7 separate regions of the Homo sapiens genome follow, and regions 1, 2, 3, 4, 6 and 7 are each linked to region 5. The links are contacts of gene promoters, found by promoter capture Hi-C in blood cells and fetal thymus (Javierre and others, 2016). All regions are on one chromosome and are shown on one strand. Each heading gives the region's core, a stretch centred on a gene start or on the middle of the fragment in contact. The rest is flanking DNA. Distances are from core to core; before and after follow the strand shown.

Evidence for each region. Contacts are between HindIII fragments. The CHiCAGO score rates a contact against its expected background, and 5 or more counts as called.
Region 1: a fragment that was not itself captured here is called in contact with the fragment with the promoter of TWF1 in region 5 in 1 of 17 cell types (total B cells); the score reaches 5.3 in total B cells.
Region 2: a fragment that was not itself captured here is called in contact with the fragment with the promoter of TWF1 in region 5 in 1 of 17 cell types (M0 macrophages); the score reaches 5.2 in M0 macrophages.
Region 3: a fragment that was not itself captured here is called in contact with the fragment with the promoter of TWF1 in region 5 in 1 of 17 cell types (M2 macrophages); the score reaches 5.8 in M2 macrophages.
Region 4: a fragment that was not itself captured here is called in contact with the fragment with the promoter of TWF1 in region 5 in 5 of 17 cell types (total B cells, naive B cells, monocytes and 2 more); the score reaches 15.8 in total B cells.
Region 6: a fragment that was not itself captured here is called in contact with the fragment with the promoter of TWF1 in region 5 in 2 of 17 cell types (total B cells and M0 macrophages); the score reaches 8.1 in total B cells.
Region 7: a contact is called between a fragment that was not itself captured here and the fragment with the promoter of TWF1 in region 5, in 4 of 17 cell types (total B cells, naive B cells, M1 macrophages and 1 more). The highest score is 9.4, in total B cells.

What each region holds. Positions count from the first base shown.
Region 1 is chr12:42,446,095-42,449,294 of GRCh38, reverse strand. It overlaps a transcript of PPHLN1 not described here. Among named protein-coding and RNA genes, the nearest start is that of PPHLN1, 120 kb to the right of the region's middle. The HindIII fragment of the contact is 1,799 bases long and covers 722-2,520 here.
Region 2 is chr12:42,577,436-42,580,615 of GRCh38, reverse strand. The region is part of intron 1 of PRICKLE1 (prickle planar cell polarity protein 1); the gene reads left to right. Among named protein-coding and RNA genes, the nearest start is that of PRICKLE1, 11 kb to the left of the region's middle. The HindIII fragment of the contact is 5,978 bases long and covers 1-3,180 here.
Region 3 is chr12:45,205,883-45,208,690 of GRCh38, reverse strand. It overlaps the pseudogene PLEKHA8P1. Among named protein-coding and RNA genes, the nearest start is that of ANO6, 8.8 kb to the left of the region's middle. The HindIII fragment of the contact is 6,012 bases long and covers 1-2,808 here.
Region 4 is chr12:42,478,592-42,481,663 of GRCh38, reverse strand. The region is part of intron 1 of PRICKLE1 (prickle planar cell polarity protein 1); the gene reads left to right. Among named protein-coding and RNA genes, the nearest start is that of PRICKLE1, 110 kb to the left of the region's middle. RefSeq lists enhancers at 1-387, 2,397-2,486 and a silencer at 701-901. The HindIII fragment of the contact is 1,540 bases long and covers 662-2,201 here.
Region 5 is chr12:43,804,642-43,807,913 of GRCh38, reverse strand. TWF1 (twinfilin actin binding protein 1) reads left to right here and starts at 1,597. Exons shown (of 9, transcript NM_002822.5): 1 at 1,597-1,693. The coding sequence starts at 1,669. It also overlaps a transcript of TMEM117 not described here. RefSeq lists a silencer at 1,422-1,901. The HindIII fragment of the contact is 5,668 bases long and covers 1-2,752 here.
Region 6 is chr12:42,462,317-42,465,166 of GRCh38, reverse strand. PRICKLE1 (prickle planar cell polarity protein 1) reads left to right here. Exons shown (of 8, transcript NM_153026.3): 7 at 1-772. Among named protein-coding and RNA genes, the nearest start is that of PRICKLE1, 130 kb to the left of the region's middle. RefSeq lists an enhancer at 1-402. The HindIII fragment of the contact is 5,218 bases long and covers 1-2,850 here.
Region 7 is chr12:42,391,720-42,394,909 of GRCh38, reverse strand. It overlaps PPHLN1 (periphilin 1), which reads right to left. Exons shown (of 10, transcript NM_201439.2): 8 at 1,221-1,340. Among named protein-coding and RNA genes, the nearest start is that of PPHLN1, 67 kb to the right of the region's middle. The HindIII fragment of the contact is 1,824 bases long and covers 598-2,421 here.

The DNA of each region.
Region 1 (3,200 bases), core at 372-2,871, 1.4 Mb after region 5:
CCTCCCGGGTTGAAGCAATTCTCATGGCTCAGCCTCCTGAGTAGCTGGGATTACAGGCGCCCACCACCACGCCTGGCTAATTTTTGTATTTTTAGCAGAGACGGGGTTTTCGCTATGTTGGCCAAGCTGGTCTTAAACTCCTGACCTCAAGTGATTCACCCACCTTGGCCTCCCAAAGTGCTGGGATTACAGGCATGAGCACTACTATGACCTTCTGACGATACATCAGAAGGAGGATCATCTGCTTTGGGTGATCCTGGATCATGGAACCATGACATAGTCAATGGCTGGATGTCAGGAGTAAATGGTACAGATGACTAACAGGTGGGTAGTGTATACAGTGTGGATACACTAGAGAAATGGATGATTCACGTGGGACAAAGCACGGTGCTGCAAGATTTCATTCAGAACGGCACACAGTTGAAAACTTACGAGTTGTTCTGAAATTTTCCATCTAATATTTTTGGACAATGGTAGCCATGGTTTACTTATACATGGGAAGCAAAACCACAGATGAGGGGGCACTGCTGTAGTTTTTCAATTCTCACACTTCCTCTATCCTGCTGCTGAGTAGGTGAACTGAAGACTAAGAAGTAATCTTGCAGTACAGAGTAATAAAGCTCACATTTTAGCAAAATACGTTAACCCTGTTAAAATAAGAGAAAAGACAATCTACTTAAATGTGGTTGCTTTATTTTGCACTTTTAATTCACAAAAAGCTTTACAATATCTACATTCCACCTGTTGATAACCAAGGCTTTATATGGCAAGACAATGAAAATTTTATCACATCAACTGGGCATATGCAAAAACAACGGATAATTTACAAACAAGTCTTTTTAATCAAGAACATTATGTAAAATACACACTCTGGTAAACATCTGAATTCATCCATCCTAAAATTAGACTTTAAGAGGCAAAAAAAAAAAAAAAAAATCAAATAGATTTTAACACTAACAAGCCTACCAGAATAATGCTGATGGCAAGCCATAAACAGCTTTAAATGCTGACTGTAATTTGGGGAAGGGGAGAAAAAGAAATTATTTGTTGTACCTATATTTAAATACATCTGTTAGTGAGACTTCTCTAATTTAATGGATTTCAACAAAGTGGACAACTCCTGAGCCTTTGGTAGTTTCTCAAGTTTTGTTTTTAAACTTGTGACATCTTGACTAAAGGAACTGAACCCTCGGACCAGAATACTTATGGTAAGGAAAAACCCCAGGGAAGCGGGGAGAAGGAGAAACAAGACTAGAACTTTCTTAGTCTATCTAAGGTGGGTAACAAATAAAATCACTGCTCATATGAGGGAAGAATACCAGAGTTGTTATGTGGGATTTAGCTTGGCTTATGTTTTATAAAAGCTAAATAAGTATAAACATCTAAATGGCAAAAATAAAAATCCAAGGTGGTCTCATTTAGGAAATTAAAAAAAAATTGTCCTCAATTAGCTTTTAAATTTGCGGAATGGCACAATACATATTTTGAGGCACCCATTATAGAATCTGTTAAAATTATGCATACTGCTACTTCCTCTTTTAATATAATTTTTATGTACTCTAGGGTAGGTATTATCAGTAGAGGCCACTAAAAATAATGCCAGAATTCAAGTGAGAGAGAATAGAAATGGAAAGAGGAAGGGAGGATAATGAAATTGGGTAGTAAGTAATAACAAACATGAGTTTTAAAGTTTCCTCACTAATAACACAGAATTGTATATTTTGGCTCAATGCCGCTGGGCTGCTGAAGTGACCAGGAAGTGAGTGGAATTCATCTTAATTGCCCCAGTTAGATTCTTAACTAACCCATGATTTGGATGAGGGGTTGTTTCCATAGACTGCTTGGTAAGGGGTAGCTGTGCTGTGCTAACTGCCTATTCGCTTTGTTTCTTTCAAGAACACTTTTGAAAGGACAAGAAAACGTAAAAGGCAGCAGAACAGAACAAAGAACTCATTAGACTACAGAGATTAACACAGCAATAATCTGCCAATAGTTTAATCATGGACATGTTACAATCATCTTGTTTCTTGAGATAGAGCATATGGGCCTATAAAAAAATTTAAAAAATAAAATTCCACTATTCCTGGCATATTCCAAAATTTTCCTCTTTTGATTAGAGTTTTTTTGGACAAGTCCCATGCGGAGTCTGTCCTGAAGACTCTGGCTGAGTGATGGATGAAAGGAGTATTCTGACACAGGTATTTTGCATGAGAACGGCTGGGGGAGTGCCAGCTTTAGTGCAGCCGAGAAGAGAGTGCAGTCCTGATAGGCTGGAACCATTTGTATTTATTCAGTAGAGACAGAATACCAAAGGCCTGAAGCCAACACAATTTGTGAGTAATGAACATTGTCGCCCCCCTTTGCAGGGAGCAGTCTTGCATGATTTCCGGAGGGCATAAGTAAACAAACTTATCTAGATAAATTCCTTTACACTCCCTTGCTACCTACTGTTCGCCCTCAGCCTCAGGGTAAGAGAATTAATTAATAAAGCTGCCTTCAGCTTTATTCTCTCCTGAAGCTTTGGAAAACCTCCCGACCTTCCAATTGCGTCTTTCCTTATAGCTTCTCCTACCAACCTGACCATCTCCTACATCACCCCTTTTCTGTTTTTTGCATCAGGTTTTGTTGATTGACGAGTACAGATGTGTGCAGCAACAGTTTTGTCAGGCATAGCAGTTACTGCTTGTTTTCTGGCTTTACATCCTAGAATTAGTAAACAACAAGAGACAAACATGAGTATAATTAGTAATATTCTTTTCTAACTAAGAAGCGACCCCCAGGAGTGGGGGTCTTTCTAGGAGAGATTTTTTTTTGCATATCCTTCCATATGGCTGTTACTGAGGAACCCCACTGGGGGTATGTTAGTCCCTCCTAGCTAAAAAGTCACACTGCTAGACGCTGGGAAGGGAATAGGGCTGAAAAAAGGCAGATTTAGAAAATGGGCTTAATAGGGTATAGTAGGTACGGGTAACAGGCAAAGTGAGAGAATAAAAAGGACCAATACCTTGCGTGAGTTGCAATGTACAACAGAGAGCATAGCAAGGAACAAATTTTCTGGAGTGAATGGTGTCTGTGTTCGGAGCAGGATCCTCTCAGCCTCCTGAGTTGTCTTCTTCAGCATCCCCCAGGTAATGTCTGGGGCTCCTGTCGTCCGACGAAGCTGTGTCGTCCGACGAACCCGTTTCTTCCGGGGCTGCAGG
Region 2 (3,180 bases), core at 215-2,714, 1.2 Mb after region 5:
TTATGTTTTCAAATAATATGCTCAGTGTATATTTTGTCAACTTGCAAACACCTCTCGCACAAAGTATCTCCCAATTTAAAACAATGAGCATAATTGTTTATCTGAAAAACAACATAATAAATACATTATTTTCCTTCAGTTTCCAGACTTTAGGCATACTCCATGGTGCATTTATTGTATTTTTCTCCAGGTTAACAACTGATCTCATTGCTTTAAATTTGGAATTACTTCAACTGGAAACATATCTGGAGGTTGACAGAAAAAGATGTTGAGCATATTATTCAAAAGTATAATTAATATACTGTTGAAAAATAAATTGATCCTATGTTTCCTCACTTTTTGAGCATCCTTATTTGTTGAATGAATGAATTCCAGTTTTCTATGTCAGTTTAAGAAATATAATCTGGTCAAATCACTGTAAAGGTTTTTAAATGTATCTGGGGCCAGGTGTGGTGACTCACACCTGTAATCCCAGCACTTTGGGAGGCCGAGGCAGGCAGATCACTTGAGGCCAAGAGTTCGAGACCAGCCTGGCCAACATGGTGAAACCCTGCCTCTACTAAAAAAAAACAAAAAATTAGCTGGACGTGGTGGCGGGTGCCTGTAATCCCAACTACCCAGGAGGCTGAAGCAGGAGAATCTCTTGAACCCAGGAGGTGGAGGTTGCAGTGAGCCAAGATTGCGCCATTGCACTCCAGCCTGGGTGGTAAGAGCAAAACCTATCTCAAAAAAAAAAATAATATAAACTCCATCTCAAAAAAATAATAATAATAAAGAAGACATATGATACCTACTTTACTTGATTTGTTGTTGTTTGTTGCCATTTTGGGGGAGGTTTTATTATTGTTTTATTTGGTTTTTAATTAAAAGAAGAACTTTAAAACTCACTATTCTGAAACCTGGCTAACTATCCAATTTCCTTTGAACTTTTACACGTGGCCAGTGGCAAAATCAGCTAGCTTTAGCACCTTCTTCCTACCATATGCCCTCTGCCAAATCAAATCATCAGGGTCTCAGAATGGAAAATTCTACCTGAATTATCTACCTGGGTTGTTTGCACATATAACTGGAAAACTCTCTTTAATTATTATGTGAAGAAATACTGTGAAGCATTTTAGGAAAAATACTTAACTGTAGCTAAACAGGTCAAGGATTACTTGAAATAAATTGAGAGCTGGTTCAGAGTATTGTATAAAGCCTTAATATTTGCAGATTTGACTTTCCTGAAGTTTTACAGCAGATCTCCTTGTTTGTACTGGACTTTAAACGAATGTTAAAAAAAAGACATGTGAAATCACAGCTCACTCTGTCCCTTCAGGTCTCTGCTCAAAAGTCATCTGATGTCAGATAGCCTTCCCTGGTCACCCTGTAAAAAATAGCAGCATCCCTGCTTTTTCCCAGTCACCATCTAGCACTCCCCAATCCTCTTAAGCTGCTGTACCTTTTTTCATAGCACTGTTAGATATTTATTGTGATAGCTACCTGTTCCCTGAAGATACCTCTGTACTGTTTTGTCTACTGCCATTTTAATGTTGTATATAAAATAAAGATAAGGTCAGGAGCAGTGGCTGAAGCCTATAATCCCAGCACTTTGGGAGGCCGAAGTGGGCAGATCACCTGAGGTCAGGAGTTCGACACCAGCCTGGCTAACATAGTGAAACCCCGTTTCTACTAAAAATACAAAAAATTAGCCTGGCGTGGTTGTGCACGCCTGTAATCCCAGCTACTCGCAAGGCTGAGGCAGGAGAATCACTTGAACCTGGAGGCTGAGGTTGCAGTGAGCCAAGATCGTGCCATTGCACTCCATCTTGGTCAACAAGAGTGAAACTCAGTCTCAAAATAAATAAATAAATAAATAAATAAATAAATAAAATGAAATAAACACAAATAGTAGCCAGTATTCTGTTTTTATCTGACCTAAAAATTTTTTAGAAAGGAGATAGAGATATTTTATTTGGAGCATTTTTGTGGGTTTTTCCCCCCAGCTGAAGTGGAGTTTCTCAGCTGTTTACCCTTTTATCTAAATAAAGCCAGAGAAACATGGTAGAATAGAAGGAAAGATGCGTATCAAATAACCCTCCTTCCTTTTCCACACTCCCAAGTGATCAAGGAAATGTAATCATCTAGCAAAGGGATGCTATATTAATAGAAGATTGAATATGTGCAACAAGGAAGCTATGTGACTTCCTTCTTCATAATACACCCATGCCACTCTGTAACCTTAAAAAAAAAATAGAGGTAGAATCTTCAGAGAGGCTTGTGATGTTGCCATGTATGTTAAAACATGGATGACAGACTGTCTTTCACTCAAACAATCTCCTGATTTAAATTCCAGGGGTGAAAAGCTAATCCTCTAAGTGATTTCAACCAGCTTGCTAGGAAACCTAGTTGCTTGAAATTATTATTTTAATGTCTCGAGTTCCAGAGCTAAATTGGCAGTGAGTCTGTTTTCCTATTAAGAAGTTGAGCCAACTTATTTATCCAGAAATTACCATGTTTCAACTTGGGGGTTCTTTATTATGATAAGACTAATACCTCCAAAGTACACAAAACACTTTCATATTCATCTCATTTTATCTTCCTTGCATCTTTATGTGCAGGTCTGACCAAGGTTATCCCAATTTACTGATGAGGAAGCTACCTTTTAGTTCGAGATGCAGCTTCCTAAGGAGCTTTGGTTTGCCAGTTCCTAAATAAAGGAATGTTTGCAGTTAAATTTTTAGAAAGAAAGAAGAAAAGAACAATAGAAAGGGAAAGTAAGCAAGCACTTGTAGCTTACCCAAAATTGTTTGATGATATTTTATTGTTTCATAAATATTGCTGTGCTTATGTGTGTTCTATATTAAATGCTTTTACATAATTATTGCATCTCCTACTAACTTGCATGGGATCTTAGATGAGTCACATAATTTTCTGGCCTTCGTACCCACTCTGTGCCTCAGTTTCCTCAGTTGTAAAGTGAGGAGAGGCTGATGATTTTTTAAGCTCAAAATTTACTTGACTCTAAAAATGTGGAGGCCATAACTTCAGGGGGATAGATAATAAATAACAAATGTGAGCTGGTAGTGTTATTATTAGTCTCATCATTCTCACCACCCAAATCCCAAATTAGAATTTTTTTAACAGTCTATTTCAAAAGTATTCATATGAGCCAGGTGCAACTTATAGCCTTATTTATTA
Region 3 (2,808 bases), core at 94-2,593, 1.4 Mb before region 5:
AAAAATGAAGCAGGGCCAGAATGATAGAGAATGATGACTGAGGAAGGACCTTGTGTGGGGTGGTCAGGGAAAGCCTCTGATAAGCTGACATTTTAGCAGAGATCTGAAAGAAGTAACAGAACAAGACATGTAAGTACCCGCGGGAATAGGGTTTTAAGAAGAGAGAAATACAAAGGCCAGAGCCTTGAGGACACTCATGCTTAGTGTCTTCAAGAAGAGCAGAAAGGCCATGGTGACTGTGGTATAATGTCTTAGTTCACTTTGTGCTGCTATAACAGAATACCACAGACTGGATAATTTATGGTAAAAAAATGTATTAACTAATATTTCTGGAGGTTGCAAAGTCCAAGATCAAGGGACTCACATCTGGAGAGGGCTTTCTTGCTGCCATCCCATGGTGGAAGGTGAAGGTCAAAATAAGGTAAAGCATGAGACGGTATTGAACTCATCCTTTTAAAATAAACTCACTCTCGGCCAGGCGCGCTGGCTCATGCCGCCTGGGAGGCTCAGTTGGGTGGATCACAAGGTCAGGAGTTCAAGAACAGCCTAGCCAAGATAATGAAACCCCATCTCTACTAAAAATACAAAAGATTAGCTGGGCGAGGTGGCAGGCGCCTGTAATCCCAGCTACTTGCGAGGCTGAGGCAGGAGAATCGCTTGAACTTGGAGGGCGGAGGTCGCAGTGAGCTGAGATCGCGCCACTGCACTCCAGCCTGGGTGACAGAGTGAGACTCCATCTGAAAAATAAAATAATAACAATAATAATAAACTCATCCTCAAGATAATGGCGTTAATCCATTAATGAGGGTGGTGCCCATGACTCAGACACCTCTCATTAAGGTCCTGACACTACTGCACTGTGGACCAAGATTTCAACATATGACTTTGGAGGACACATTCAAACCATAGTGCCTACTGGTGGAGGAGGAGAGTGGTAGGAGATGGGGTCAAGGTTGGTGAGAAAGAGGGAGTGCTACTAATCACTTTGGGCCATGTGGGGCAACAGAAGGACTGGTGATTTTACTCTAAATCACATGGAAATCATATTTGAAATAGATGGGTGGCATTATTTAACATATTTTAAAAGGATCTTTCTGACTGCTTTATGAAAAATGGACTGTAGAATAGCAAATGTAGTCACAGAGAGACCAGTTGGGAAACTAGTTGTATAATATAGTGAAGCGATTGGCTGGGCGCAGTGGCTCACGCCTGTAATCCCAACACTTTGGGAGGCCAAGGTGGGCAGATCACCTGAGGTCAGGAGTTCGAGACCAGCCTGGCCAACCTGGCGAAACCCCATCTCTGCTAAAAATACAAAAATTAGCCGGGTGTGATGGTGCATGCCTGTAATCCCAGCTACTCGGGAGGCTGAGACGGGAGAATGGCTTGAACCTGGGAGGCAGAGATTGCAGTGAGCTGAGATCGTGCTGTTGTACTCCAGCCTGAGCAACACAGCAAGACTCTGTCTCAAAAAAAAAAAAAGACATATATATATAGTTTATTCAGAAATATATCCAGAATATGTATAGTCTATTCAGAAATATATCCAGAATATATATATGTATATATATGTATAGTGAATACATTTATGGTCTTTTCAGAACATATATATATATATGGAGTCTATTCAGAAATATATCCAGAATATATATATGTGTGTGTGTGTGTGTGTGTGTGTGTGTGTGTATATATATATGTGTGTATATATATAGTACACATATATAGTGTATATGTACTATATATACTATATATACACTATATATACACTATATATAATATATATAGTATACATAGTATATATAGTGTATATATAGTATATAGAGTATAGAGTATATATATACTATATATACACTATATATAGTATATATATACTCTATATAGTATATAGAGTATATATAGAGTATATATAGTATATGTATAGAGTATGTATATACTATATATAGTATATAGAGTATATATAGTATATGCATATTTTATATATAGTATATGTATATAGTATATATATATATATATATATAGTGAAGGGATGATTGCAGTGAACTGGGTGGTAATGGTAGATGTGGATTATGTGTTTTTGAGGTAGATCTGAAAAGAGTTTCTGATGTAGTGAATTTGGGTATGGGGGAAAAACGAAAGTCAAGGATGACTCTAAGGTTTTAACTTGAGTTATGAGAATGGAGTTGCTGTGTCTGAGATGTGAAAGACTACAGGAAAGCAAGGGGGTGGGGAAATAGTGTATTTTTTTGGACCTGTAAGTTTGAATGTAATATTAGACATCTATGTGGAGATGTCCAGTAGGCATGAATCTGGAATTTGGAGGAGAGCTTTGCACTAGACATATAAACTTAGAACTGAATAAGATCACTTGGAAAATGAGTTTCTACAAAGGGGTGATGTCTGAGGATTGAGGATTGAGCCCTAGGACACTTTTCTTCAACATACGCATGGGGAAAATGAGAAATAATCAGCACAGGAGACTAAACAGTAGTGGGCAGTCAGCAATGGGGAACAACAGGAAAGGGTGAGGTTGTAGAAGCCAAGTTAAAATTTTTTTCACAAAAGGAGGAAATGATCTCCTGTGCCAAATGAATCTGATTGGGTGGCTTTGTAAAAACTAGCTATTTAGCAATTTTTCTGTAGCTAGAACAGTTTTCTTTCTTTTCTTTTTTTTTTTTTTTTTTTTGAGACGGAGTCTCGCTCTTGTTACCCAGGCTGGAGTGCAGTGGCACGATCTCAGCTCACTGCAACTTCTGCCTCCCGGGTTCAAGCGATTCTCATGCCTCAGCCTCCCAAGTAGCTGGGATTACA
Region 4 (3,072 bases), core at 182-2,681, 1.3 Mb after region 5:
TGTAGTCTGGGAGAATTGGAGTAGCTTTTGAATGGAGAACCTGTGATCTGCATCTTCCATGCACTAAGGCCTTGTTAACAAGCAGTTTAACAAAGAAGCTGTTAAGCAGTTTGTAGCCCACGGATGGCACTTAGCAGCAGGGGACACCTAGGGAATGTTGGCCTAACTGACTTCACAAATCAGTATCTGTTCTGGCTTTTGGTGATCAGAGGATTTCTAACTTCCCTGGGCATGTTCACACAAGAAATACTTTTTCATAGGGATCTTACAATGCCATGGTAGTCTTCATATAGGAACTAGAGTGGGATTGCATTGGAGAAAAAAATGTAATTAGGGATATGACCTTATACTTCATTTTCAATGGCAGGCCCTGACAATTACTGTTTTCTATTTGCATGATTTTGATTTGGTGACTTGGTTCAAGAAAATTATGAATAATAGGAATCATACCAGACCTGATATACAGTTACAACCTCAATATGTATCTGATTAAACTCATTCTCCTGAAATCCCTCAAATCCTCACTCCCCTTCTGAGTTGCCCTAAGGTACTTATGTATTGGTATGTCAATCACCTAATACTCAAAACTGTCTTTGGCCCAATTTCTTCCTTTCCTATTAGTTCCTTTTACTTTCCCTCCCCAAGTCACTATGTGTAAGCTTTCTTAGGGACAGTGTACTAATTGGCCCCTCTCAGGTTCTTTATCTTTTTCCTGACCATCACTACCATATTAATCTTCTTTAAGACCCAGAAGTATCTTGTGGCAGTCTCCATTCATGTCTTTTGCAGCTTCCCATTGCCTGTAGTGATAAGCCCACAGTTTTCTGCCTGAAATGTGTAATTCTTGAAAATAGGATTCAGACACCATTGCCATCTGTTGTTGCTTCTTTGGAAGAATCTGTCTTCTAGCAAAACCGTCCACTCTTCACTGCCTCTGGACCTTCATATACTGTGCTGACTTATTAAGCTCTTTACAGAAACATAGTTATGGCTCATTTATGTATATGTCAAGGTCAATCAAGATAATAATCCTTAGCTATCCTGGAAGCAGCATACAGACCAGTAGAAAATGAAATGATCCCCAAGTGGCCAAAATAGCATAACGAAATAATAAACCTTCTCTTTAGTTTGAATAACACCTTCTCACACTGTATGCTATCTTATTTCACCAGTGGTTACTGTGCTTATAGGAGAAGTCCTTAAGCCCTTGTCCATGCCATAATTACTACATAGATTTTTTTTTGGGACAGGGTCTTGCTGTATTGCCCAGGCTGGTCTCAAACTCCTGGGCTCAAGCAATCCTCCCACTTCAGCCACCAGGTAGCTGAGAGTATAGGCATATGCCCAGCTTCTGTGTACTTTTAGACAAACTTTTTCAAAGAATGGTTGCCTAATACCGGAAGCAACAAATTTTGAAAGGTTTGGAGGTTGTTGGCTGTGGGCAAAAGAGAAAGGCACCTTAATAAGAGACAGGTAGCAGGGATCAAAACATTATGAGAGCAGGGAGAAAAAAACCTACAAAAAGTTTGCTAGTTATCATAAATGTATGGGTCAGGGGCCATTCTGTTTCTTGAATCCCGAAGCCAGTGTTTTCTACTGTGCTCAAAATGAAAACAAATGATCAGCCGAAGGCTAAATCACATATAATTTTTACACGTGCCACCACGAAAGAAAGCAAGGAGATGAATAATGGAATTTTTTTTTTTTTTAAGATGGAGTTTCGCTCTTGTTGCCCAGGCTGGAGTGCAATGGCATGATCTTGGTTCACTGCAGCCTCTGCCTCCCAGGTTCAAGCAATTCTCCTGCCTCAGCCTCCCAAGTACTGGGATTACAGACATGCGCCACCATGCCCGGCTAATTTTGTATTTTTAGTAGAGATGGGGTTTCACCATGTTGATCAGGCTGGTCTCGAACTCCTGACCTCAAGTAATCCACCCACCTTAGCCTCTATAGTGCTGGGATTACAGGCATGAGCCACTGCACCCGGTGGCTACATTTCTTTCTAAGTTCTGGCTTTTAATGGAATAAATGTCAGTTGGCTCCTTTTGGCATTCCCCAGAACCGTTCAATAACAACTTTAAATATAAGGATGAATGAATGAATGCAGTGAATGAACCTAGAAAGTAAATTTCACAAAGGAACCCCTCATTATATCACTGTGTTATATGAATAAGGCCATACTTGAATTTGGGGAACAAGCTTTACCTAGAAAAACTGTCATGCTCCATAGACCACTACACATGCTGTGTGCGAATGTGTGCACGCACACACGCTATGTGTATGGTATTGGAGGCTTTATGTGGGGACTGGTTAGAAGCTGCTACCGAAGCAGCTGGAAACGTTGGTCAATAACTTGGCAAAATTGTCTGCCGTTCAGAAGGCTAGAGCTCTCGCAAGCTCAAAAAGAAGATGAAACTCAGGTTTTGTTATTAACATATTGTTTCAATTCCATTTGTCACTGGTTAGCTTCAAGAAAGTCTGTTTAGTCCCAGTGGAAGCAGCAATGCCAATTGGTACGTTGCAATAGGAGCTTTAATTCTTTATGGTCGTGAAATTCTTTTCTGTTTTAAAACATCCTTAGACCATCTTTGGAAGGCAAATAGTGGCTATTTTTTAAAATCAGGTCTCAAGATGTTTGTTGACTTGTCAAAGCTTTGAAGACATCAGGACCAAGTTTACTGAATGCTGAGAGCATCAGATTCCATTCCCTAAGTATAGCCCTTATCCTTTGGGTCAGATGTTCTCTTGACAATGATGATTGAGAAGTCTTACATCTGTTAGCTGCTTGTCTTTGTTTTTAATGATGAGAAATAGCTATTTAACTATTTTGAAGGAAGAGGCGAGAGAAAGGACAAAGGAGGGAAATGGAACTGTTCCATTTTCTATTGCATGGAATAGCCCCATGATATTCCTTGCCTTTCTAAAAAAAAAAAAAAAGAGTATCCCAGCTCTCTCTACATGACCTTGGGCTTCTTTCTCACCTCCCTTGTGACCATACCCTTCTTTTCTGTTTGACATTTATTTCTCTACTTGACTCTGATAGTAGGCTTTTAGTTTTCAAAATAGTGTCTG
Region 5 (3,272 bases), core at 348-2,847:
TATTCTCATGACAGCTCTGGCAAATGTTCACTAAATGGAGACACAATAGATGAAGAAAAGTGGGAAAATATTTGTGGCTAGAGCAGAGCAAGGTACCCAAGACGCTTGCAGCTTTTAAGTCAAACTATTGTACTGGCAGTAAATAAGCACTTTCTGGTGGCTGTCAGGGTGGTCCCAACCTAACTAGACATTCCTCTTCTTCAGGACTGAGAATACAGTGGCCTTTCCCAAGCACGAATATGGAAGGATTATATTTTGCTCAACTATACTTTTGAGCAACGCCAACTTCCTTAAGCAATTTCCCCGAAGCACTAGGACATGAATCAGTCAAAATACTGCAAGTCAACTCTGCAATTTTCTCTCTGCTCAGCAATGTAGTCAAAAACTGGTAAATCAGGGTGAACCATTGTGTCAGGAAGAATTTGATTAGAATGAAACTCCTCCCTACATTTCTTAAATCCATACAAGTCATAAAACTCAGATTTAGTTTATTCCTGAATATGAGAATATGTCTGAAAAACAGAGCTCAGATAACAGGCAATAGAACATAACCTTGTTTGCTGTGATTCTTGTAAAGAAAAACAATTGCAGGCCTGTTCATCACTCATGAAAAATACATCGTATAGTACTGGAACAGTGATTAACTTGCACTTATATTATTGACCTGAATAAATTATTTCTTCATTAGCAGATTATAATTTTGTGTATGTGTCACTTCAAGGCCCTAAAAATAAGAACTAGCTTCCCACCTAGTAGCAGTAGAGAAGCAGTACCAAAAAAAAACCAAACCCCCCACAAAACTAACATTACCTTTCAGGAAGGAACTACATGTTTGTAAAAGCAGGAAAGGAAAAGATTTTTAAGTAATATCTGCTGCTACCTTACAAATCTGTCCAAGTGAATTTTGAATAATTACTGGATTAAATAATAAACTGCCAACCTAAAGCAGAGCAGGATTTGCAATGGTATAATCGACCACAGAGGGATACTCAAATCAGCTAATCTCTTAGTGGCTGTCTCTTTCCGGAGTGAAGAGAAAGATACACTGAGTCTCTAAATGTGTCCAGCTGAAAAGAAAAGTTAACAGTCTGAGATTAACTTAATTTAAAATCGTGGAAAAATTTGATGAGAGGCAGTCTATATTAATTCTTTCAAAACAATGGAGCAAGGAGAAGGCTTTTCTACACTAAACGGTATCGATTATAGGAAGAGTAAACCAAGAAAAATAATGTGCACATCTTTTTTAAGCTGGAAAATGCCTATTTGGTAAAATGATCACTTCCGTTTTTGAGCACCCCTTTGCTGAGGCAGCGAATGGCGGCGTCGGCGGGGTTGTCAGAGAGCAGACGTCGGAGCACTGAGCAGTCTAGATTCTGCGGCATGTCCCCCCCGGAAGAAGCGGGAGAGGCGGCGGCAAGAGCAGAAGCAGGACCCCAAGCAGAGAACTAGGATAGCGAGGCCGGGGGCTGGACCGCAGCCCGGCGGCCAGGAAGGGCGGCGGGGCGGCGGGGACGCTCGGGCACTCAGTCAACCTCACGGGGCGGGGCGGCCGCGGGTCGCGGGCGGATGACGCGCCGGGGCCGGCGGAGGAGCAGCCACTTCCTGGGGCCGCCGGCCGGGGCCGCTGGCTGCACTCAGCGCCGGAGCCGGGAGCTAGCGGCCGCCGCCATGTCCCACCAGACCGGCATCCAAGGTAACAGCGCCCGGCGCGACTCGCAGGGAAGGGGCTTCCGGGAGAGCCGGGAGAGCCGGGAGGGCTGCAGGACCGGCAGGGCTGGAGTCGGGCCGGGAGCTCCGGAAGTCGGTCTCGCGGGGCGAGCCGGGCCTCGGCGCCTCTCCGCGCTCCTGCTTCCCGGGCGCTGCCGGCCTGCGTCCTCCTCCAGCCCGGTCCCTGCTGCCGTCACGTTGCAGATTGATCCGAAATTCGGGGGAGCGAAGGAAATTGGCTTTCGAGGCGGCCTGGTTGAAGGGGGCGTGCCTTCCACCGTCCCCGACAGTCGCCCAACTTTCCCCCTTTTGGTCACGTAGGGAAGAGCTGGGACAGTGGAGGCGACTGGGGCTTCAGTACGCTGTCGAGAACCAGGCGAGTTTTCTTTTTCATGGTCCAAAGGAGAATATTACAGGACTTTGATTACAAAAAGAACCATGCCAGAATCTTTCTCACATCAGTAGGGGTGCTTCCCAAAACTCTCCCGCATTTTCTCTCCAAATAGGAAAATGAGAGTTATGTTCTGAGAAATCTCGAGTGTAAGCGTGTGTTTTGATCTTTTTCCTAGATACTCCCCAAGGGAAACTGATCTGTATGGTTGCATGTAATGCGTGCAGACAGTTCAATATGCAGTTATATCTGACCTCCATTATTTCCTGGTTTGAAATTGGGCAGCCTGCAGGTACTCACCTCATCAAGAGTCAAATAATATATCCCCGGGTTACTCGCGATCACTTAACGAGTTCTAGTGTAAACTCAAGCTCTTACTGTTAATAGCGAGTCTTTCTCCCAGATGAACACTTAATTGTATGTTTTATTCGTAAAGATTTTTGACACCACCGCACACATCCCCCTGCACGCACGCAGAAGCAAAATAGTCTCAAATCTGAAAACTTTGTTTTATTTATCCGCATTAATTTCGATATATAAATATGTAGTTATTGACTCTCATGCTTGAGCCTTATAGCAAGCACTACCTACTTACATAGTGGTTCTTGCTGCTAATAGACAACACAGGAACGAAATTAGAACGAAATTGAAGCTTTAATAGGAACACAAGGGTTAGTTATTAAATACATATTTATTCAATGAGTTTAATCTAGCTTTTGAGAAATGCAAGTTAGAAAAATATAACCAGAGTTAAGACTGAATGCATTTTATTGTCTTTTTCTTTAAACAAGTTAGGATATTTGATATATACTGTTGTTTTTAACGGGAAAATACAGAAAGTGAATTGATGAAGGAGTGTCTGTCATAAGCTTGAAACTGAATTAGAGAATGAAAGCAGGTTTTCAATATTTTTCAAAAGAGCAAGAAAAGTTTTTCAAAATTGTAATTTGCTCATTATTGGGTTTGAGTAACTTCAGTATATTCACCCCAGTGTTATTTCTGCACAGAATTATGTAGCTAAAACAGATTAGAATTATTAACATACTTTTAAAATGCTAATATTTATATTTCTTAATTGTATACAGTCTTCGTTATTTTATGCGGTAAAGTTTTATAATACTGATAATAAGGATGCTACATGCTCCAGATTTTTTCTTTGTATTCTAATTAACTT
Region 6 (2,850 bases), core at 1-2,500, 1.3 Mb after region 5:
GGATGTCCCTTCCTTCCCAAACAGGGTCAGATTTACTGCTCAAAAACGTGCAGTCTTGGTGAAGACGTCCATGCCTCTGATTCTTCCGACTCTGCATTTCAGTCAGCTCGATCAAGAGACTCCCGAAGAAGTGTCCGAATGGGCAAGAGCAGCCGGTCAGCAGATCAGTGTAGACAGTCTCTCCTCTTATCGCCTGCTCTGAACTACAAGTTTCCTGGCCTCTCAGGCAATGCTGATGACACCCTTTCTCGAAAATTGGATGATCTGAGTCTCTCCAGACAAGGAACAAGTTTTGCCAGTGAAGAATTTTGGAAAGGCAGAGTAGAGCAGGAAACTCCAGAAGACCCTGAAGAATGGGCTGATCATGAAGATTATATGACGCAGCTCCTCCTCAAGTTTGGTGATAAAAGCCTCTTTCAGCCACAGCCCAATGAGATGGATATTCGAGCCAGTGAGCACTGGATATCTGATAACATGGTTAAAAGTAAGACCGAGTTAAAGCAAAATAACCAGAGCCTTGCAAGTAAAAAATACCAGTCTGATATGTACTGGGCACAGTCACAAGATGGACTGGGCGATTCTGCTTATGGCAGCCACCCAGGCCCTGCAAGCAGTAGAAGGCTTCAGGAATTGGAACTGGACCATGGGGCTTCAGGGTATAATCATGATGAAACACAGTGGTATGAAGATTCCCTGGAGTGTCTGTCAGACCTGAAACCAGAGCAAAGTGTTCGGGATTCGATGGATTCTTTGGCATTGTCCAATATCACAGGTACGTAATCTAGGGATTATGGGGTATTTGAAAAAAGGAGCTACTAAAAAGTGTATTCAAAAAATTGCAATTCAAGCCAGGCGCAGTGGCTCATGCCTATAATTCCAGCACTATGGGAGGCTGAGGTGGGCAGATCATTTGAGGTCAGGAGTTCGAGACCAGCCCAGGCAACATGGCGAAACCGCGGCTCTACTAAAAATACAAAAATTAGCTGGGCATGGGCCTGTGATCCCAGCTACTCGGGAGGCTGAGGCAAGAGAATTGCTTGAACCCAGGAGGCAGAGGTTGTAGTGAGCCAAGATTGCGCCACTGCACTCCAGCCTGGGCAACAGAGCAAGACTCCATCTCAAAAAAAAAAAAAATTGCAATTCAGCATGAGTAGGAGTTGTGTGTTATTCAAAACCATGGATCAAGGGAAGGAAGGAACCTCACTTAAATACCAAACACTAGCAAAACAAACACATGTGTGAGGTGAGTGCATGTGCATAAAATATATTTACAGTGCAGTCTTTAGGGATAGGTTTTATTACCCTGTTTTGAAGAGAAGGAAATTGATTGGAGGAAGGAGTGTACAACTGGATTGTGTCTGAAAGATATTGTACGCTTGAATTATTCTGTATGTATTCTAAGATACCAAAATTGGCCCACACACTTTACAAGCTCTTTTTTTTTTTGAGGTGGAGTTTCGCCCTTGTCGCCCAGGATGGAGTGCAATGGCGCAGTCTCACCTCACTGCAACCTCCATCTCCCGGGTTCAAGTGATTCTTCTGCCTCTGCCTCCCCAGTAGCTGGGATTACAGGTGCATACCACCATACCTGGCTAATTTTTGTATTTTTAGTAGAGATGGGGTTTCGCCATATTGGCCAGGCTGGTCTCGAACTCCTGACCTCAGGTGATCCACCCGCCTCAGCCTCCCAAAGTGCTGGGATTATAGGCATGAGCCACCACGCCTGGCCACAAGCTCATTTTTTTTTTTAAACATCTTCCTGAATTTCCCTGTGACAGTAGCTCAAAAACAGCTGAATACTTTTTATTTAGATTCTAAAATATTACTGTAATGTTTTCTTTTTTTTCCTAGTTTTTTGTTTTGTTTTGAGATGGAGTTTCACTCTTGTCACCCAGGTTGGGGTGCAATGACGCGATATCAGCTCACTATAACCTCTGCCTCTCAGGTTCCTGAGTTTAAGCGATTCTCCTGCCTCAGCCTCATGAGTAGCTGGGATTATAGGCGCCTGCCACCACGCCCAGCTAATTTTTGTGAGACAGGCTGGTCTCAAACTCCTGACCTCAGGTGATCCACCTGCCTTGGCCTCCCAAAGTGCTGGGATTACAGGTGTGAGCCACTGCCCCTGGCCTACTTTAATGTTTTCAAAGCACAGTCATACCAGTTATCCACATTTTATCTTTAAAATGACCCTGAGCTATATAGAGTGGATGATATGATTGCATTTCACAAATGAGGAAACTTGAATTACCAAAAGGCTAAATGCCAAACATTACATAGGTTCTAAAGGCAAGATTAGGCCTAGAACCTAGGACATTATGCAAATTATTTGCAACAAGTCTTTGGATTATAGAAATGTTGCTGTTGCATGGCTAGTTTTATAGTCAAACTACTGACATCCAGCCCTTTGATGAAGGTAATGCTTCTGTAATGTAGACAGGAAAGGCTTAGTAGCTGCTTCCTGCCAGGAATAACTTGTGCCAGACACTGCAGTGACAAGGAAGGGTACGGCAAAGCTACCCCCCCGGCTTCTGTGGACTTGTCAAAGATAAGGCCGGCAATAAAGGGGAGTTGAGGAAGAATGGTGGGTGAGACTGAGTAAGCACCTTTTGTCTGCCAGGCCCAGTGCTAGGAGTTTTAAATTTAATATCAGAAATAGACATAATTTGGCCAGGTGTGGTAGCTCACACCTGCAGTCCCAGCACTTTGGGAGGCCCAAAGCAGGTGGATCACCTGAAGTCAGGAGTTCGAGACCAGCCTGGCCAACATAGCAAAACCCTGTCTCTACTAAAAATACGAAAATTAGCCAGGCATGGTGGCATGTGCCTGTAATTTCAGCTACTCGGGAGGCTG
Region 7 (3,190 bases), core at 260-2,759, 1.4 Mb after region 5:
ACTACCAATATTCCAAAGCAGCAATTTTGAAGCATAAATATCAATGATTAATGTAGAAACATTATTCTAAATTATTAGAGAAAATAACCAAAATAATCCAATTAAATGTATTACTGAAAAGTATTGTTCATGCTTTTAAATAGTGCTGGAAAAGTACCAAGAAGGAACAGCTTGGTGTTTTTGATACATTTACTGGAGAATATGCATAAATATCTATTATTATAGCTACAATAAGGAGGAAACCTTGACCCACTTAAGAACAATCGATATCTAAAAGACAGATCAGCATTTTTAAAAAGAAAGGCTCTATTTGCGTAAGTTCTGATAGGGTTTATACTTTTTATGAGCAGTGTACATTAGTTACTTTGGAAAGGATCTTTTCACTGTATAAAGATGTAGTTAAGTATTATTTTTACATACAATATCAATGCTTGATCCCTTTTATCAAAGAACATTCTATAAAAGTCATTCCAAAAGTAAATCAAAAAGCCAGAATGCTCCTTCAAATAAAAATAATTTGTCACGGGACGGATTTTTATATTCTCTACCTGTCATGTCAAAGAATTCCTATAGTATCAAATCCTGAATCTAAAAGCTTAATTGTGACCACAGAATTTCTATATTTCCCTTTTAGAGATGTTACAGTTTATACAGAAATTTTTCAGTTCATTTCAAAATATGTTAATACAAACGTGTCATAAACCTTTTTCTATGGTCCCAAAAATGTTCCCATCTTTCGGTATTCAAGACTCATCAAGGTCTCGGGTTGCCCAGACAATGAATAATTTTATTTCTTGGGATATTTATGAGATAATCTGCATGAAGTATAACAAGCAATATAAATATGGTCCACAATCCAAGGTCAAATTAGATTTCTGTTCTGAATTCACTGGTTTATAACTAGTGGCTTAGCATGATTTCCTGAGATACTTTTAACAGCAAAGCCCATTAAAAGAAGTATATAAATAACGCATTTTTCTTATACTCCATATTTATACTATTCTTACACACCAAAACTACAGGAAACATTCAGACAAAGCGTGATTACTGAATTCAGAGTCATTCATATTCTGACTATCATTCTGTGTGGTAATTTTAATACCTGTAATCCATAAGGATATATTTTGAAGTATAGGAATAAACCAAATATTTTTCGCCCATAATTTAAAATCCAGACAAAACTTTCAGATGTGAAACATAAAGGAGACATTATGCCTTACCTCATACTCAGAAATTTCAGGCAAGTTACTTTCATCTGATTTCTCTAGCTTTTCAGCAGCCCACTTGCTTGCAGCCTCAGCAAGTTCCTTTTCAGTTAGCCTACTGGGTTTGTCTAACACCTAATAAAAATAGAACATTTCTGTTACAATTCTCAAGGGCTTTTAAACTTCAAATACACCAAGAAGTACACTCCACTTACATTTAAAATCATATAAGCCTCCAAATTTCTATGGAGAACAGGTACATTCTTTATTTCCTCCTTCAAAAATATTCAACATGGAATTACTTTAAGTAGCAATTCCTTTGGGACATATAGACCAGATCTAATTCTTAATTTCATTTACATAAGACTCTAGAAATTCATCTAAGTAACAAAGCAAAAGACACTGACAATTAACTCATATAATAATTATATTTAGAATATAAAAGACATCATACTGATTTCAACTTTGTGCCTTTAAGCATATTTAATGAAATAAGTAATGTCTAAATTTCAGTAAAGCAAACTCCTAATACAACAGAAACGTACAGATATGCTATTATTACAGTGTACAGTGAGTTACATAAATCCTACTCCTTACACAAAATTTTTAAACTTAAATTTCATTTTTTGATCCTACTACTAGTTCCTTTATCTAACTGCACACAATACTAAACAAGGTATGGACTTTGCAGTTATATACAGACCTGGCTTTGAATCGCAGTTTAATGACTTGCTAGGTAGATGACTTTATACACCTAACTTACGACACCATGAGCCTTGGTTTCTTCATTTACAAAATAGGGGTTAATAATGCTCACTTTGCAAAGCAGTTGTGAGAATTGAAGGAGGTAATAGATCTGGAAGTATCCACAATAATGCTTGGTACCTTAGTGTTTCTTTCTTTTCCATATTCACTGATGTGAATCTATTATACTAAAACATATCTGAAAATCAATCAGCCAATGGGCTCAATATAAAAATGAAGAAAGTAAAATGTCTTTTCTGGATCAGATATAATTCCCCCAGTACTGTTTAAAGGCTTATTTTGTAAATAAGATATGAATTGTCAAGCACAAATTTAAAAATTATTTCCTTAGGGCCGTTAAGGTAATTCTCTGATTCCATTCTACTTCCTTGGTATACATTTTCATCAGCTTTGCCCTGCCATGCTTAGTTGCATAACCATCTCTTCTTAAAAAACCTTCTATTACTAAGCTTTACTTCTCTAAAGTCACATCACTGATTCCAAATATACCTCTTGTGGATGACAGTGCTGGGCACTGAACTTATGGGGCACTACCATTTATAAAGTGCTTTTATCTATGAACCAAAAGAAGTACTTTAATTAAATAGAATTCCATGAAGGTGATTAGAGAGGCTTTATTATCCCAACTCATAAACTAAAAAACTGAATGATGGTGACCTGCTCAAAGTCATTAATAAATGCTGAGCTGGGACTTAAATCTAGGCTTTTTTGGGAGGGGCGAGGGGGAATGCAGTCTCACTCTGTCACCCAGGCTCAAGTGCAGTGCCGCGATCTCGGCTCACTGCAACCTCCGCCTCCTGGGTTCAAGCGATTCCCCAACCTCAGCCTCCCGAGTAGCTAACAGTACAAATGCGCACACCATAACCGGGTAATTTTTGTATTTTTAGTAGAGACAGGATTTCACCACGTTGGCCAGGCTGGTCTCAAACTCCTGAGCTCAGGTTATCCGCCTGCCTCGGCCTCCCAAAGTGCTGAGATTACAAGCATGAGCCAACGTGCCTGGCTTAGACATTTTTTTAACTGAAAAGGTCATTTGATGTTTTTCTACACCTTGTTAAATTCATCAAACTACTGGCTAGCCATCTACATTTACTGGAATATTATAGCAATATATCTATATGAAGTATATTCTACAGCCATTGAGGAAGCTTAAACAGCTCATTCCAAAGCCGTGTCCATATATAAGGTTAAAAAGGTATTATAAGTAATACTTTTATTAT